Regions from separate parts of the Homo sapiens genome. Here region 2 is linked to region 1. Evidence: promoter capture Hi-C in 16 types of primary human blood cells and fetal thymus (Javierre and others, 2016). All regions are on one chromosome and are shown on one strand. The core of a region is centred on a gene start or on the middle of the fragment in contact, and the rest is flanking DNA. Distances in the headings are between cores, read along the strand shown.

The links. The method cuts DNA at HindIII sites, captures the fragments that hold promoters and counts their contacts. A CHiCAGO score of 5 or more calls a contact.
Region 2: a contact is called between the fragment with the promoter of GTF2F2 here and the fragment with the promoter of DNAJC15 in region 1, in 3 of 17 cell types (monocytes, total B cells and naive CD8 T cells). The highest score is 8.6, in monocytes.

What each region holds. Positions count from the first base shown.
Region 1 is chr13:43,020,771-43,025,473 of GRCh38, forward strand. DNAJC15 (DnaJ heat shock protein family (Hsp40) member C15) reads left to right here and starts at 2,816. Exons shown (of 6, transcript NM_013238.3): 1 at 2,816-2,964. The coding sequence starts at 2,857. RefSeq lists enhancers at 2,635-2,694, 2,705-2,754, 3,265-3,314. The HindIII fragment of the contact is 4,162 bases long and covers 2,006-4,703 here.
Region 2 is chr13:45,117,983-45,122,685 of GRCh38, forward strand. GTF2F2 (general transcription factor IIF subunit 2) reads left to right here and starts at 2,528. Exons shown (of 8, transcript NM_004128.3): 1 at 2,528-2,739. The coding sequence starts at 2,674. RefSeq lists enhancers at 2,158-2,801, 2,562-2,691, 2,802-3,443. The HindIII fragment of the contact is 3,497 bases long and covers 461-3,957 here.

The DNA of each region.
Region 1 (4,703 bases), core at 1,566-4,065:
CATTATACAAGTTGCTTCCATATCCTGTCGTTTTCTTTTTTATCCCTATGTAAATGAAAAGTTCTCTGAAAAGGAATTTAGAGGAGAGAGACTATCCCAATAAACAGTTTGCAAACCTGAGAGCCACAGATTTCAGTGTAAAAGGAAGGTTTGGCTCTATTTTAAGTTAGTCCTAGTTAGCCACTTGGGATCCATCTTGAAGGATTGGTTCTTTGAGGTTTATATTTGTTTGCACAACTTCCCTGAGTCAGAATGTTGGACAAATGTTATTCTCCTTTTACAGGTAATTTGGAGAGGTTAATGGATATGTTCAGTTATACAAGCCCAGAAAATAATGGAGGTACACTAGAACTCAGATGTCTTCCTTATTCCTGTAACCACCCAATGGGTTTACTTTGCTGGCTGTCTAGACAGAGCCAAATTTATAAAGACGGGGTAATTGCAATAGAGAAAGAGTAATTCATGCAGAGCTGACTGTGCAGGAGACTGGAGTTTCATTATTACTCAAATCAGTCTCCCAGAGCATTCAGGGATCAGAATTTTTTATTTATTTATTTATTATTATTATTTTTTTGAGACGGAGTCTCACTCTGTCCTCAGGCTGGAGTGCAGTGGCGCGATCTCTGCTCACTGCAACCTCTGCCTCCCAGGTTCAAGCGATTCTCCTGCCTCAGCCTCCCGAGTAGCTGGGACTACAGGCACCCACCACGCCCAGCTAATTTTTGTATTTTTAGTAGAGATGGGATTTCACCATGTTGGCCAGGATGGTCTCACTCTCTTGACCTCATGATGCACCCACCTTCGGCCTCCCAAAGTGCTGGGATTACAGGCATGAGCCACCGCGCCCAGCTGGGGATCAGAATTTTTAAGGACAACTCGGTGAGTAGGGGGAAGCCAGTGAGCTGGGAGTGCTGATTGGTCAGGTCAAAGATGAAATCACAGGGAGTCCAAGTTGTCTTGCGTTATCAGTTCCTGGGTGGGGGCCACGAGATCAGATGAGCCAGTTTATCGATCTGGGTGATGCCAGCTGATTCATCAAGTGCGGGGTCTGCAAAATATCTCAAGCACTGGTGGTAGTTTTTACAATAGTGATGTTAGCTCCAGCAGCAATTTGGGGAGGGTCAGAATCTTGTAGCCTCCAGCTGCATGACTCCTAAGTCATAATTTCTGATCTTGTGGCTAATTTGTTAGTCCTACAAAGGCAGTCTAGTCCCCAGGCAAGAAGGAGGTTTGTTTTGGGAAAGGGCTTTTATCATCTTTGTTTCAAACTATAAACTATGAATTACATTCCTCCCAAAGTTAGTTTGGCCTACGGCCAGGAATGTACAAGACAGCTTGGAGGTTAGAAGCAAGATGGTGTTGATTAGGTCAGATCTCTTTCTCAGTTGTAATTTTGCAATGGCGGTTTAATTCCCAGTCCAGTTCTCTTTATACTGCTATGCAATGCATGTGCTCATGTTCTGGTATGTACTATTATTCTGTGTCAGTGTTATCTTCCCTACAAGATTGTAAATTTCTAGGACCTAACTTCTTAGACATGCTAATAATATTAACTAAGTGAACAAATTAATAGACCCTCAAAACTTTAAATTCAGGAATAGAAAAAAAATAAAGCTTTTTCTTCCTGTCAGCTGATTTTGCAAAGGGTATAAGGAGCCAAAGAGCTGCCACGTTGGTACAGAAGTTGGAAAACACCATACGCTTCAACTGCTGGTTAATTTTTGCTCTAAAAACTTGATGGAGGCCAGGCGCGGTGACTCACGCCTGTAATCTCAGCACTTTGGGAGGCTGAAGCGGGCGGATCACCTGAGGTCAGGAGTTTGAGACCAGCCTGGCCAACATGGTGAAACCTCGTCTCTACTAAAAATACACAAATTAGCCAGGTGTGGTGGCACGTGCCTTTAATCCCAGGTACTCGGGAGGCAGAGGGTGCAGTGAGCCAGAGATTGCGCCACTGCACTCAGCCTGGGCAACAGAGCGAGACTCCATCTCAAAAAAAAAAAAAAGCTTAATAATAAAATGGGCTTTTATATATACAAATCAGCACAAACTCATTTGAGGGAGAGTAAGATTTACCTACTTGCTCACAACTTTTTTTCCCCTGCCTCAGGCTCCTGAGTAGCTGGGATTACAGGGACGCACCACCACACCCAGCTAATCTTTGTATTTTTAGTAGAGACGAGGTTTCACCATGTCGGCCAAGCTGGTGTGATCCACCCGCCTCGGTCTCCCAAAGTGCTGGGATTACAGCGTGAGCCACCGCACCCGGCCACAACTTTCTTCTGTGTAATTTCACCTTAAATACAGCCATTTACTTGGGGGTGGAGTAAGCAAATTGCCTCTTTAATTTCTCTCCCGGGGTGGTAGAACTGTGGCATTAAACAGAAGTGCGAACAGAAGTTGAGAGTGGGAAGAAAGGCTGCCCGGAAGGGGGTCAGGAAAGCTCAGGCAAGCCCACCCTCAGGCACTACAGCTAGACTCCGAGCTTACTGGGCAGTCATCTGATTCGACCAACATCAGTTCGCAGGGCTTAAGCCCAGTCCCTTACGGCGGCCTGGGGAGGGACCAGGCCCAAGTATATAAAGCTCCCTGAGGGTCCGCGTTGGCTTTGCGCCTGTGAGTGTGATTCAAGAACGTCCCAGTGCCCTTGGCTCCTTTCGGAGTGTGACCCCGTGCTTGCACGGGACACGTTACCCAGCTCGGGTGAGAAGGGTATCTTCCGGGAACCTCGCCTTTAATAGCACAACGAGCGCAGAGTCCACTGGATCTGCGAGAAGAAACCGCGCTAACTAGTTTGTCCCTACGGCCGCCTCGTAGTCACTGCCGCGGCGCCTTGAGTCTCCGGGCCGCCTTGCCATGGCTGCCCGTGGTGTCATCGCTCCAGTTGGCGAGAGTTTGCGCTACGCTGAGTACTTGCAGCCCTCGGCCAAACGGCCAGACGCCGACGTCGACCAGCAGAGACTGGTGAGTCCTGCCAGCGGCCCCCACCCCTCTCTGGCTCCCTTGTAGTTTCTGCTTCAGCCCCCTCTACCGCCTCACCCTTGAACCTTTGTACTCCCCCGCATTCGCTCACGGTCTGTGCCCTAGCGCTCACTTGTTCAGTGGAGAGACCGCTTTGTGCTGGGCTTTGACGCCTGGGCGTGGAAGACGGAGCAGTTCTGAGGATCTGTCTCCTCAAGGAGCTTCCAGTCTTGTCTGGGACACAAACCAGAAAACAGGCAATTGCAAATACAGTAAAATAAGTGCTGTATGTGGATTTTCCTATCTCATAGGAGGCCCTAAAAACGTCTTGCAGGGGACGTGGTGGGATCAGGGACGCTTCTTGGAGAAAGCTGTAGTTAAAAATTAAGATCTGAATGAATAAAAACAGTCCATTCAGCAAGGAGAAGGGGAAAAAGTGTTTCGGGTACCAGGACTACTGTCTCCAAAGTCTCCGGCACAGAAACAGGGCCCAGTTGGAAACTCCAAGTGGTGTATTCAGGATGAACTGTAGAGCTGGAAAAAGGAAGGGTCTAACAGAAAACTGTCCAACAGAAGCATATTGTGAGCCACATACGTATTTTTACGTTTTTTTTTTTTTTTTTTTTTTTTGAGACGGAGTCTCGCTCTGTCGCCCAGGCTGGAGTGCAGTGGCGCGATCTCGGCTCACTGCAAGCTCCGCCTCCCGGTTTCAGGCCATTCTCCTGCCTCAGCCTCCCAAGTAGCTGGGACTACAGGCGCCTGCCACCACTCCCGGCTAATTTTTTGTATTTTTAGTAGAGACGGGGGTTTCACCGTGTTAGCCAGGATGGTCTCGATCTGCTTACCTCGTGATCCGCCCGCCTCGGCCTCCCAAAGTGCTGGGATTACAGGCGTGAGCCACCGCGTCCGGCATATTTTTAAGTTTTTTGTAGCCATATTAAACAACTGAAGAGAAACAGGTGGGTTTGATTTTAACCATGTATTTTCTTTAACCTGATATATGCACAGTTGCATGGTAATTTTCAACATTCAATATGAAATATTGCCCAAGTGGTGGTTTAGGCTTGTAATCCCAGCGCTTTAGGAAGCCCAGGCAGGAGGATCACTTGAGGCCATGAGTTTGGAGGACAGCCTGGGCAACACAGGAGACCCCATCTCTGCTAAAAAAAAAAAAAAAAAATTAGCTGGGTGTGGTGGTGTGAGCCTGTAGTCCTAGCTGCTTGGGAGGCTGGGTCGGGAGAATCACTTGAGCCCAGGAGTTGAGGTTATAGTGAGCTATGATTTCGCCACTGCACTCCAGCCTGAGAGACAGAGCTAGACCCTGTCTCCAACAAAGAAAAAAAAATGAGGCAGTAGAGATTTAGAAAGTTTTAAGTAACTGGTCCAGGATCATCCCTGGTAAGTGGCAGATCTACGATTCCAAATGCTACACTTTTTCCCTTATGACTTGCTGACTCCTTAGAAATAAGGATTTCTGGATATAGTATTCAGTGTATGATACAGCTGAACAAGATCAGGCAGAAGTAATCCTTTTGTGGAGAGTCGTAAAAATCCGAGTATCAGGCTTTCAAGGTAGTTGGGAGCTGTGGTAATTGGAAGATAGAACTAATATTGGTGACTTTTACATGTGTAGGTATTTTTACTTGGAAGAGGAGAGAGTTTACAGAATCCAGAGTACCACATAGGAAGCATCTTTAGTAGTCCAGGTACTTGAAGGCTAAAGTGTAGGCCAGTGATTCTCA
Region 2 (4,703 bases), core at 1,278-3,777, 2.1 Mb after region 1:
TTGGGCCCTCCTTCCTAGAATTGCATTTGCGCCTTAAAAATTTTGGTAACAACTTGACTAGTTAATCATCTGAGGGAGTAAAAAATTTTGGTGTTACCTTCTCTGGGGCACTGACTTCTGCATCCTATGCTCTGTGAGCCCCATCCTGGGATATGGTCTCAGCTCTTGGATGTTGATATGTTTAATGACATATAGGGCTATATTGAGGAAAAATAATACCTACTCTGGCAAATTGTTATAAGGATTAAATGGGATAATACAGAAAATAACTAGCTGAGGATCTGGCATATAATGAGTCCTTAGGAAGGTGAGGGATCTGCCTGTAGTATCTATCCACCTTAAGGGTCTCCACAGTAAATCTGTGAATTTGGTTCATAGGGGCCATGCCCTCCTTTTCTATCAGGGTTCTGTAAACATCCCTCTTCAAGCTAGAAGGGGTTTGAAAAGGACAGACAGGAGAAGCTTGCTCTTTGTTCAACAGCGTACGAGGAAGAGGTGCTCAATACGTTGTTTTTTTCTTTCTTCTATGTATCATTTTAAAATCTCCACTTTTCCGTTCTTCGCTAGCCCTTTCATCAGCCATTTTTTTTCTCTCTCAATCTCTGTGTACACACACATACACACATACCCACACCACGTACACATTTTAAGGCCTCCCATGACCCAGAGACCAAAGCCAGGGTTCCAATCTTTAAAGTCCATTCCTGGGGTGCTCTAGACTTTGCTTCTCTTCTCCCATGGTCTCATATTTCAATTTATTCCTTCTCCTTGATTAAAGTTTAGAGCAGTTCCCTTAATCTGCTTACTCTTTATATGTTTTAAAAAGGCCCTTTTCCAAGTTGTTGCACAAGAAGAAACCTTCATTTTCTGCTTAAAAAAATTTTTTTTTGTTTTTCTTTTTTTTTTAGAGATAGGGTTCTTCCTATGTTGACCAGGCTGGTCTCGAACTCCTAGCCTCAAGTGATCTTCCCATCTCGGTCTCCCAAAGTGTTGGGATTACAGGTGTGAGCCACTGCGCCTGGCCAAAAAAATTTTGTTTTTAGTATTTATTTTTTAGAGACAGGACCTTGCTCTGTCACCCAGGCTGGAGTGCATGGCACGATCATGACTTACTGTAGCCTTGAACTCCTGGGCAGACACAATCCTCCCACCTCAGTCTCCCAAAGTTAGGGTTACAGGGTTGAGCCACTGAGCCTAGCCTGAAACTTTCATCTTCAACACACTCCTGGTCTCTCCCATCTTTCCTATTAGTTTTCCTAGCTAAAAGCAGAGTTCTGACAGCTTTTCCTGGCCCTATGCTGAACACACATAAAATTTCCTCAATTTTGTGCAAGGCTCTGATGTGTGATTCAATAAATTACTTGCCATTCTTAACAATACCTTACTGTTTGTTTCTCTTCAGCGAATGTTCTTTCACCCAAAGCCTACTGAAACCTGACAATGTGTTAAACACTGTGCTAGACATTGTGGATATAAAATGAATAAAGCACTATTTTTTATTTGTCAATTATACCTCAATAAAGCTCTTTCCGCCTAGGAGGAGTTCATTGTCTGGAAAGCAAAGGCAGATATGTAAACATATATATTATAGTTCAGAGTGCTAAGTATCACACTGTGATGTGAAGAAAAACTAATTTCTTCTGGGGAAGTTGATAAAAGATCTCATAGGAAGTGACATTTTCATTGGTCTTGAACCATAAGTAGGAGTTTGCCAACCAGAGCACAGGGGTGAGAGTGAGGGCAGGGGTAAAATAGGGCTTCCAAGGGAAGGGAATCCAGTGTGCAGAGGCTCTGAAATGACCGACGAAGATTCTGACGTGTTTAGGGAAGTCTGCTGGGTTTGATGTGGTTTGGTGCATGGCGGAGTGATGGTGGGAGGTGCAAAGAGATGAAATTGAGAGGGCCCAGTTGAAGCAGGAGGATTGAACTTTATTCTAGAGGCAATAAGAGAAAGAGAAAACTGTTTAAGCAGGGGAGGAAACGATCAGGTTTGTCTCTTACTTGTTCGTTTCGTTACAGACTTCCGGGTTTTGGAAACTGAGGTGCTCCGCTTGCTTCATCAGAACAGCTCGGGTAGCCTCTGAGCTGAAACACGGCTTTTTTTTTTCCAGGTCTAGAAACGGCATGTTTTCAATATACCCAAGGCTACTAAGTTTGATCCCAGTGCCCATTTGTGCTAATGACGTTGGCCAGGGACGCCAATTTACTACCCTGACCCTGTCCTTCAAATATTGTCTCTCTCTCCTTGGCTAGGGTTGGACATGTTCTGACACCTTTCGTCTCTTTGAACCCCATTTTTCCGTTCTGATAATCTTTTTCTTCAGTTATGCTGACCATGTCTTTAAATACATTGCTAACGTTTTAGCTCATCCCACCCTACGTTTTAATCCCTCAGATGCAGACATCGCGGACAGCCACGCCCACTCAAGAAATTTCCGAAACAGAAAGTTTGTCTGCAACAGCGCGCCGTACTGACGTAGCAGTGCGCAGGCGCAGTCCCGGCTCCTGGCGGCGTGTTCCTCTTTTCCTCGGTTCCCAGTGTTCTGGCAGGTAAGGAACGCCGGCTCTTCGCCTCTCAGCGCGGCTTGTCCTTTGTTCCGGACGCCCGCTCCTCAGCCCTGCGGCTCCTGGGGTCGCTGCTGCATCCCGCACGCCTCCACCGGCTGCAGACCCATGGCCGAGCGCGGGGAACTCGACTTGACCGGCGCCAAACAGAACACAGGAGTGTGGCTAGTCAAGGTAATGTTCGCGAGTCTCCCACTTGCGCTCCTCCTAACACAAGTATAGTTTAAGTAACTTGAGCCTATCCCGCTCCGTGCGCCTCTTAAAGTTCTTTTACGGCTATCTCGTTAGAGCTTCACACATTTTGAGAGGCAGGAGTCATTGTTGTATCTGTTTGCAGACGAGGAATTAGTTTAGGGACGCAAAGTGTCTTTCAGCCAGTTACTACTCTGAATCTGCCTGGACTAGATCTCTTTCTCACGGCTTTCCTGGAATCTTGTCTTGGTGTCCCCAGATTTGGACGGTGCATTTTATCCCAGACTGAAGAATTCCTTGTATCTTCCCTTGGTGAAACTGGTTTTAGCCATGAGCCTGCGTGAGGTAGTTGAATGTCTACTTTCTGTACAGTTTTCTCGGCCAGAAAGTAGGACTGGTCCCTGCCTACTCTTAAAAGTGTTCTCTTAGGTTGATGGTCCTTAATGAAGCTCTCAAAAGAGGCGAGAGAGCCCCAAACTCACAGAAGGAGAGGTCATTGGACTGGAGTATTCTTTTAGAGCACATTTGGGTCTCGTGAAACTGGCCGTCAATAAACGTTTTATGTGAAGACAGCAATTTTGGTTAGCTCACAGTAAGCACTATTTGTGCTTTATTGTTTCATATTGGGGAGTGTTTTCTCCTAGGGGAGTTTCATAATACTTAAGCATATTCAAAATGTGATCCTGAAAGTCGTTGAAACTTAAAATGTAAGGACTTTTGGTTTCTTAATGCTTTAACTGTTTTATCACATGGCTGAGTTCTCGTCAATTAAATCTAAGAGGTCTTTCTTGTCGGCCTTCCTAAAACAGCCCCCTTGTGATCATTTGCTAACACGACAGATGTGTATTACATTCTTCAAAGCACTTTTCACAGTGTAGAGTGATTTTGTGTTCATATGTTCAAAGTTGGTTACCTCTGTCTTTCCAACACACAGAATCACATTCCATGAGAACAGGATCTTTGCCTGTCATACCCAGAATAGTGTTTGGCGCATGGTAATTACTCAACAAATAGATGATGAATAAATGCATGACCTCTCATTCTTCAGCCCTCGCCTTAGTCTGTGGCACTCATTTGACTTATTTCCAAACTCAGTGTGACTTAAAAGGATGGATTAAATAGGCATTTCTCTCTCCAGCAGCATGTTACTTGGGGGGAGAGTCACTAAGGAGGAGATTGCCCTTACGGACTGAAGGAAAAAGCTTGAAAAAATGGTGTGACTTGAGATGGTGCCATTGTCCTAGGAGCATGGTAAATGCTCAATGTTTGTCTTACAGGATTTGGATGGGTGGACACAGTGTATACCATGGGGAATGGAACAGAAATGCAAGACTCAAAATATATAATCAGCATGGCGTGTTGTGGAAAACAGAGAGAACCTAGAGCAGAAGATCTGTGTAGATGAAGATGGGGACCATATACTCAGATTGTCATATCATGAAACGGAGATATTCTAACTTTAGTTTACAAGGAAGTAACGAACTTTTTGGAGGATTTGAGTGAGGTAGAGATGCCAGATATTTATTCAGGAAAAAAAAAAATGTTTGGCAGTGTGCAGTACGAATTAGAGGGGAGGGTAACCAGAGTCACAATTAGAAAATTATCACAGGATCGGGCTGGGCATGGTGGCTCACGCCTGTAATCTCAGCACTTTGGGAGGCCGAGGTGGGTGGATCATGAGGTCAAGAGTTCGAGACCAGCCTGGCCAATATGGTGAAACCCCATCTCTACTAAAAATACAAAAATCAGCCAGTCATGGTGGTGTGCGCCTGTAGTCCCAGCTACTTGGGAGGCTGAGGCAGAAGAATCACTTGAAACCGGGAGACGGAGGTTGCAGTGAGCCGAGATTGCTCCGTTGCACTCCAGCCTGGGCAACAGAGCAAAAATTCCTTCTCAAAAAAATAAATAAATTAAAAAAAAGTGTAATTTGTTGCTTAGAAAGTGTA